Regions from separate parts of the Homo sapiens genome. Here all the other regions are linked to region 3. The links are contacts of gene promoters, found by promoter capture Hi-C in blood cells and fetal thymus (Javierre and others, 2016). All regions are on one chromosome and are shown on one strand. The core of a region is centred on a gene start or on the middle of the fragment in contact, and the rest is flanking DNA. Distances in the headings are between cores, read along the strand shown. Region 1 overlaps LIPA (lipase A, lysosomal acid type). Region 2 overlaps LIPA (lipase A, lysosomal acid type). Region 3 holds the start of IFIT1B (interferon induced protein with tetratricopeptide repeats 1B).

Region 1 (2,748 bases), core at 248-2,747, 160 kb after region 3:
TGTATTCTGTGCTCACGCTGGTGCTTCATATGAATGCTGAAGGACATGTGACAAAGTGATGAACTGCTGTCTGTGTTCAGTGGCAGAATAGTTTGCATCAATATATTTTCACTGACAAAGATGGGGAACAGATGTACCAACAGGTGCTGTGAATCCAAATTTTGTTTTGCTTGTTAAATATGCCACAGGTATTTAATATCAGTCATTTGCAACGGCAAAAACAGATGCCAAATATTTCTCCTGTAACAATCCCCTATAGTATATCATCTCACTCTGTCTTTTATTACATCAAACAGTAGAATTGTATGCAGTTGATTAGAACAGACTTCACATAAATCAAAAGCAGTTTTGACAAAGAATGTCTGAGCATTTCTTTTTACCAGGCGCCACCTTGTGGCCAAAACTTACCATTTCAAATTCATTTGGCTTGCCAATTTTGTGTTTAATTTTTGACATACATTTAATTTGAGAGTGTAGAGGAAATATGGATTTGCACTATTTTGAATTTTAAAAATAAGTGACATTTTGCTAATATTTTATATTATACTATTTTAAATATGAATAAATGTAAATTTCAATACAATTTCAATTTCATGGCTCTAGTATCCCTAACTAGTTAGAATTGTGCTGGCATGCAGTACTACTTGGTGATTATACTGATACCAGTACTCAAGAAAAAGTGTTTAATCAATACCATCATTAAAATTTGACTAATATAACTAGACAAGTAGAATGGGTAAATAGAAAATATACAGTCATCCCTCAAGTATCTTTGGGGACTGGCTGCAGACATCATCCCCAAACCAAAATTCACAGATACTCAAGTCCCTTATATAAAATGATGTAGTATTTGCATATAGCCTATGCATATCCTTTCATATGCTTTAAATCATCTCTAGATTACTTATGATGCTTAATACAATGTAAACGCTATGTAAGTAGGTGTTACACTGTTTTAAAATTTGTATTTTTTATTGTTTTATTATCTTTTATTGTTTTTTTCCAAATATTTTCCATCTGCAAAATATCACTTGGCTGAATCCACAGATACAAAACTGGATATGGAGGGCCAATTGTATATTATAATTATTTTATCTATATATATCCATCTCTCTCTCTCTCTCTCTATTATATATATATATATGTATATATATATGTAGCTACCTATCTGTCTACCTTTATTTCCCAAGTAAAATGACTAACTCTTTGAAAAAGCTTAGGATGCAAATTTCAGCAGAAAATGTCAGCATAAAGTTCCGCTAGCAGGAGCAACTGTTGATCTAGTATAATTGACAGCATATGTGCATAGCTGCTTTCTTGTGTCAGGTGGTAGCTGCTTAACAATCATACAATGAGAAATTGAGTCATTCAGTAAAGCAGGACAAAACCATGCCATCTCATTTAAAATAATGCCTTGGAAATGAAGAGTAAATCTGGATATTGGTATAAAGTTGATTTCCGAGGTTGTGGCTAGCTCCAGCAACCTATGATGTTATCTCTAACTTTGGTGTCAGATAACTCTTTTCCAAATTATCTTCTTTTTAGGCTGTTAAATTCCAAAAGTTTCAAGCCTTTGACTGGGGAAGCAGTGCCAAGAATTATTTTCATTACAACCAGGTAAAGTTTTTAGTCTTTTCATTAAAGGGGGCCCTGAAAACTCATCAAGAAAGCCAGCCTGGCCTATCAGGATTCTGGCCAGGCTCAGGTGCTGTGGGAAATGTTTGCAGGAGTTGACTAGTGTTTGTTTTCCATCAGTCCATTCAGAACAATCCAAGCTTTGTAGCTGGTGTTGTGGACTGGGCCTCCTCTCTTTGTCCTTTCCCCAGCTCTAAATAAGAATCATCACTGTTATGCATTACTCAGAGTAATCACGAACATAGCCTGTAGAGTCAGACAGTCCTATGTCTGTTATCTGGTAGCTATGGGGCCTTGGCCAGATTACATTGCTTAAGCCTCTTCCCTGCACTAATAAAATTAGCATTTTTGAGCATGCTAAATGCACTGAAGTGTGAGGCACTTTGCTCTGTTTTTTAAATTTAATTCCCAGAGCATCTCTGTGATGTAAACGTGATTATCTCTGACTTAAACATGAGGACAGTGAGGCTTAGAGAATTTCTGTGACTTGTCTTACACCCAAAGGGAAGAAGTAGGAGGGCATGACCCCAAACTCTTTCCAGCCACTATTGCCTTGAGTGTACTACCTATGGAGTACAACACCTTCCTTGCCGGGGATTAAACATTCATTTTGGTGCCCAGCCTACGGCAGCAGCTCCACAGCTAGTGGCGATTATAATTAGCATTCTCTCATTTGGGGTTAGATTTCTTTTTTTGTGCCGGTAATGGCAACTTGAAAAGATACTCAAAGAGATTTTAAAAATTTAGTCTGTTAGTCAAACTTACTAGACAATGTTTAATGGAGATTGCGCTTATTGTGATTTTGAAAATTAAAACAACAACAACAACGAGGCTTTCTCTGGTTCCTTTTCATTGTAGAGTTATCCTCCCACATACAATGTGAAGGACATGCTTGTGCCGACTGCAGTCTGGAGCGGGGGTCACGACTGGCTTGCAGATGTCTACGACGTCAATATCTTACTGACTCAGATCACCAACTTGGTGTTCCATGAGAGCATTCCGGAATGGGAGCATCTTGACTTCATTTGGGGCCTGGATGCCCCTTGGAGGCTTTATAATAAAATTATTAATCTAATGAGGAAATATCAGTGAAAGCTGGACTTGAGCTGTGTA
Region 2 (3,109 bases), core at 244-2,743, 130 kb after region 3:
ATATATGTATATCTTTTTTCTCTCTCTCATTTTATAACTCAAGCAAAACTGCAGTTTCCAGTGCAGATAAAGGAATTTCTAGACAGACTGATTGAAATTATTAAGCAGTTATCAGAAGAAGGATCTAATCTTTATTCAATTATCTCTCCAGATGTAGCTTATTTATTTATTTATTTTTTTGAGACGGATTTTCGGTCTTGTTGCCCAGGCTGGAATGCAATGGTGCAATCTTGGCTCACTGCAACCTCCGCCTCCCAGGTTCAAGTAAGATGTAGCTTATTCTCTAACATTTTTTTGTTTCTGGAGACTTTTCTTGGGGAAATTAAGGTTTAGATTAAGGTAGTTAGATAGCTATTTATTCTTCAATTTAAGTGTTATACGGGCAAAAGAGCCACCTTTGCCTCAATTCCTGCCCAAATTGTTATTCAAAGCAAACTTAAACACCCTTTGTGTTAATGTGAGCATTGTATTATTATTTGCTTTGTTTTTTCTTAATTTATCCTAGTTTAACTTTTTTCTTCCATGTGTTCTAGCTGTAATAAGATTTTAATAATGTTTAGGTGGCCACGACAACCATTTTTTTTGAAATTTGATTTCTAACTCTTGAGATTTTTATGCTTTACAGATATATGCCATTAAGCTTCCTTTTTATAAATATGTTATAAAATGAGTGATGAGTTATAGTGAGAGCTTTTAGTTTTTCCTGTGCTCAAAACACTCAAAACATATATTTTATGCTAGAGCGAGCATATGATCTTGGTTTCCTTCCTTTTTTTTCCCCCAAAGAATAACCCCTGTATACTGATTTCAGACACTGTATAAAGAAAAATGCTTTATATTATTTTTCTTAAAATTATAGTTGATTAATTAGTAACGTGAATCACTGTTAAATGATGGTAAGCATCTCAGTAAAACTTGCTGAGAGCTCTCCTCCTATATCCAGCTTCAGACTTCTCTCTCCATACAGTGGTTAAAACACTCAGAGTCACATGCCCTACCTGTGTGTATCACACTGTTGCAGGGGAAGGTGCAGTGCCCTGGAATATGAAGAAAGTGAGCATGAGTCTTGATATGCTCCCAGGTAATAGAAAGGAGACTTATGGGACCTTGGTGCTACACCTGGGTTTGCCCCTGACTTCTTGTGTGCTTTGTTTTTTCTTTTTTTTTTTTAACCTCTGTGGGATATATTATATATACTTTATTTTATTTTTGGCAAGAGGGTTGGGGATTGGGAGAGTGGAGAGTCTAGGTCTTTAGAATGGGGGAATATAGACTGAAAGTATTTACTCTAAGCTAAATCTGTTCATAGCATTTGGTCCTCATGTTCTTTCTCTATTCTGAGAGGCCCTCCCTGTAGGGGATCACTGATGTGTATGTCATACCTGCTATGAGCTAACCTCAGTGGGGAGTCTTCAAGGAAGTCTACAGTGAACAACTCAGTTCTCTAAAGGAATTGTGATTTTCCTAAGAACTGCATAGGCGCTTTCCTGATGGTTTGCATTTCCACATTCTAAAACAGAGCATGGACAGAGGCTCTTTACTGTCCTTCACTCCTATTCAAGAGCAAGGTTGTTGCCACTGGTGTTATTTCCGGTGTTTAAAGGCAAATAGATAAAAAGAATGGAGAAGGCCTTTCACACCCAAAGTGAAACGCGTCCTCTTCTCATGCATCCCGCTTCCCCTCCTGACTTCCTCCTCTATTATTAATAGCACCAGCATCCTCCTAATGACCTAGCCTGGAATCTGCAGAATCATTCTTGACCACGGGTCCTCTCTAGGCCACCCACGTTAAATTGCTTCAGTTCATCTTTTTCTTCTGTTTCCCTGACCACCAGCCTACATTAGGCTCTTGTTACCACTTAACTGGGCGCCTGAAATAAGCTCAGCAGCTGAGAGAGTCTTGAGCCATTTCCATTTTCAAGGCTCCTCGTATACTAACAGAAAGAAAGAATTTCAAGACAGGATTATGGAAATTCAGTTTGCTTATATAGTTTAAGAAATTAATGCTTTTAATACACACAAAAATACTGCTATACATTCATACTATTTACAAGTAATTACAAAATGTATTAAAACATTATTCATTTTTTGGTACCACATTCCTTGTGGAACCTGAGTCTACAGCTGAATGGTGAGCATCTTTCAGTCCTGTTGCCATGGGCCTCTTTGACTGACTGTGTAGCCTCACTTGGAGATCAGGTTTTTTTTATGAACACAGGGCTTGGCCACATGGCTTCTCTGCTCATGTTTGCTTAAAGGCTTTACCTAACTGCTCTTTTCTCTGCCAGGCTTCCTGTTCTCATTCATCCTATGTGGTTTTGCAGGATTAAGTTTCTTAAAGCTTAGCTATAATGATGTGAAATTGCCATTCAGCAATCTTTAGGGGTCTCAGAAATGAAGATACACACTGTTCCTTAAATATTCTGTCCAGCTGGTATTTGTACCTTTCACCTCCATTCTGCACAGTAGTAGCCCTTGGCTACTCGTGCAGTATGTGCATGCTGTTTCCCACCATTAAGCAACCTTCTTAGGAAGTGTTGAGCAATGCTTTGCTCCTGAAGGGAATTGAAATTCAGAAATTACACTTCATAGGGAAGTGGCTCTGTTTTCATCTGCTCAGCCTTATTTCAGAAAGTCATGGGGAGTTAGCACTGGAGGGATCTCAGATTCCTGCCTGGGCTAGGGATTTTTGTTTTTTTTTAAACACACTTCACTGGTGGATTCCAAGGTAGAATTCTTGGTTTTGGCAACCTGTGTTCTAGACTAACATCCTCATTTTGTTGGATAAGACAGCCAGGTTCAAATAGGGAAATGAATTTGTCTCAGGGCAGAGGGTCATGTCCTGACCTGTCTGACTACAGATTCAGTGATCTTTGAACTGGAGAATGTGGCCTTACATAATAAATATTAACCAAGTTGATGCCATGATAGGCACAATATATATTTTATATATATATACACACACCAAGAGTGGCACATTTGTATCTGAAAGTTATGCATCTGATTGCCGAGTGGGTGAAGTGGCACTCTAGACTGTGAAAGCCTGGAATGACTGCCTTCAGCATGCAGAAACAGGCTTTTCAACTGTGGCCTCAGCAAAGATTCCCCA
Region 3 (2,756 bases), core at 78-2,577:
GGCAACATGATCACCTGGAAAACTTATAACACACAGATTGATGGGCCCCACCCTAGAGTTTCTGAGTCAGCAGGTTTAGGGTAGGGCCTGAGAATTTGCATTTCTGCTACCTTCCCAAGTGATGCTGATGTTGCTAGTCAGGGGACCACACTTTGAGAACAGTTAATTCAGTGAAAAGCAAATTTCATAGTAATCACAATTTCATAGTTTCACAGTAATCACAAAATTTGACTTGGTATCAAAAACAAACAAACAACAGAAAAACAGCCATCTCTGAAAGTAGCTTCTTTTTCCCACGTGAATTTAACCAATTTATCAAATAAAAATAGCTGCTTCTTCTCACCTGGATGCCTAAAAGAGTATTTTGTATATTAAAAGGATCTCAATGCTCTTGCCCTGACTGGTCCCCGGGCCAGTCTCCTCTCTAGGCTCAGGCCTCTGTTCCCTGGTGAACAGTCTTTAAGTGTTGCCTGGGTAATTGTCCCTCTATTAGAAAGTGCTACAGAAATGACATCTTTGGAAATAAGATTGCTTTCTCGTTTATTTCCTTAAGAGCATTGCTGCTTTTATTAAGCCAGCTACCCTTACTAAGCGAGCTCTGTAACAGGAGTTAGGAAACTTGCCTCTACATATATTCTCATCTTGCCCCTCTGAATCTACTTTCCTACATTCTTCACCATGCTCTGTGCTTGGAAGCTGACTCTATGGACTTTATTAACTCCAAAACTCTTTTATTTTTTACTTTCTACTGGGGTTGGCCCACTGGGGAGCACCAGCCAGATATTAAATTGCAGGAGGAGGTGAAGGTCATGGAATTAATTCCTAAGCTCCCACTGTGCTCTGCTTGAGGTTGTCAGTGATTTTTTCACCAAAGGCCTCTTGAGAAGCCCCTCCCCTACAGCTATAGCTTAGAGTCTCCTTGGGTCTGGTTCTCTCCTCTTGCTCCTGTAGGCCCAGGGTTATCATGTTACCACTGTTGTAAACCAACACGCCTCTTCCCGCTGCCCTGCAACCAACAAGCACCATTTCCTGTTGATTTCCCTAAACTTTGCCCATATCGTCTTAAATAGCCCCCTTATTAAACTCTTCTTGGTTATCATGTTGAGGGTGCCTATCAGGGTCAGAACCACCAGTGGGACAGCTCCCTTAGGAGAAGGCCTGTCAAAAAATTGGCCCTTAAGGAAAGTTTTAGAATTTCAAAGTGTGCAGAAATAAGGTCAGTGAAGCAGAGAAAGACTTTACCTCATGGTGCTATGAAGATAGCAGGTGATCTGTAGTGCTTTGGTTCAGGCTTGGAGGCTCCTTCAAGGTTCATCCACAGAGTTCTAGGGCTTCTCAGATAAGCATGGTGCTTATATATGGGAGGTATATCCAGGCAGTTTTTTACACCCTTGATGCCTAGTGAATTGGCAGGGTGAAAATGATACAGAGGAATAGGGCTGTCTCTGCTTTGATTACAAATACATGCTGAGTTTTGGCAGCTAAGAGGATGGGTGTGTGAGAAGCAGTTTTGATACGCAAATTCCCTTGCTGGAGTCAATGTGGTGTAGGAGATAGAGGGTAACTGGACTTTATGATGACATTCAGTGTTGTGGAAAAACCAGTGGCAGACAGGAACGTATATTTTTGTGAATCATGTCAGACTCTGTTGTCAAACTTGTTACTATCACATGTATCCCGCCAGGTGGTTCCAGGGACGTCTACAATGGAAGCTCCTTAGACCAGGGTCAGTGGTTTGTGCCTAAAAGAATACTGTAGAAAGTCATTGTCAATTTGTGGAAGAATGAGGTTGCAGATGGTTAGGTCTTCTTCTGTGGGGCTGTGTTAGGCAAAACAACTCCTCAATTTTGAGATATTGGTCTATAAGAAGGGTCCCATACTGGTTACATCCTCCAGCAGCATTTGCATTACTGCCAACCCTGGCTATAGTGGAGCCTATTCAAGCATATTGACTGTTTTGATGATCTTTACTGTTCACCATTAGTGGTTCAAACAACAATGTTTGAGCTGGTCAGTAGAGAAACATATGCAATGTAGTCAGAGAATGTGATGGGGTCATGGGGGTTAAAAATCTAAATCCAAATTCACATAGTTCTTCTGAGTTGTCCTTATGTTTCTTCTGTTTCTACTATTTTGAAGATTATCTGTTACAAAGCAACAACCATCAGAGAGTCAATCAAACAATGTTCACATGTTTAATGAAAAATTTATATGATCCCAAGGCTGATGTAATTGCCCACACAATTAGCAGAGAAAAAGGAAAATTTGGAAAGCTGCTATTCTGAATTCCTCTTGTGAATTGTTACAATGTCATCCTGTACGTTTCTGGATCTTGGTTTTGTAGGGGTAGTGCACCAAGATAAGCAAAAGGGCAAAGACTGAGAGCGATTTCCCTCTGAGTGAGCATTTCAAGGTAGGGTTATTAACTTCATTACAGTCTTCTCATAATTACCAAATGAAACTGTAGCCTCGCTGTGCTATTTCTTCTTTGTCCTGGGCCTGTAACTAGACTATATTTCCCAGGCTCCCATGTGGTAAGGTGTGGTCATGGGCATGGGATGGGAGGCTGTCAGGAAGCAGAAATGATTCTATAATTGGGTATCTTAAATTGTGTCTGGAAAAAGAGAAGACTAGACCAAGGTGACAGGTGTAATTTGAAAGGAAGCAGCAGTCATTCATATTGGCCAGTTTAAGGGGCTGCTTGATTATTTTCGAATCCAGTTGGAAAATATTCGTATTTTTGTCTGCACTCAGAC

Evidence for each region. The method cuts DNA at HindIII sites, captures the fragments that hold promoters and counts their contacts. A CHiCAGO score of 5 or more calls a contact.
Region 1: a contact is called between a fragment that was not itself captured here and the fragment with the promoter of IFIT1B in region 3, in 2 of 17 cell types (M0 macrophages and megakaryocytes). The highest score is 6.0, in M0 macrophages.
Region 2: a fragment that was not itself captured here is called in contact with the fragment with the promoter of IFIT1B in region 3 in 11 of 17 cell types (megakaryocytes, neutrophils, endothelial precursors and 8 more); the score reaches 10.2 in megakaryocytes.

Annotation. Positions count from the first base shown.
Region 1 is chr10:89,214,807-89,217,554 of GRCh38, reverse strand. It overlaps LIPA (lipase A, lysosomal acid type), which reads left to right. Exons shown (of 10, transcript NM_000235.4): 9 at 1,546-1,617; 10 at 2,494-2,748. The coding sequence ends at 2,727. Among named protein-coding and RNA genes, the nearest start is that of CH25H, 8.9 kb to the right of the region's middle. The HindIII fragment of the contact is 560 bases long and covers 1,218-1,777 here.
Region 2 is chr10:89,241,654-89,244,762 of GRCh38, reverse strand. All of the region lies in intron 3 of LIPA (lipase A, lysosomal acid type), which reads left to right. Among named protein-coding and RNA genes, the nearest start is that of LIPA, 8.6 kb to the left of the region's middle. The HindIII fragment of the contact is 1,701 bases long and covers 643-2,343 here.
Region 3 is chr10:89,376,627-89,379,382 of GRCh38, reverse strand. IFIT1B (interferon induced protein with tetratricopeptide repeats 1B) reads right to left here and starts at 1,327. Exons shown (of 2, transcript NM_001010987.2): 1 at 1,243-1,327. The coding sequence starts at 1,247. It also overlaps a transcript of LIPA not described here. The HindIII fragment of the contact is 6,433 bases long and covers 1-2,756 here.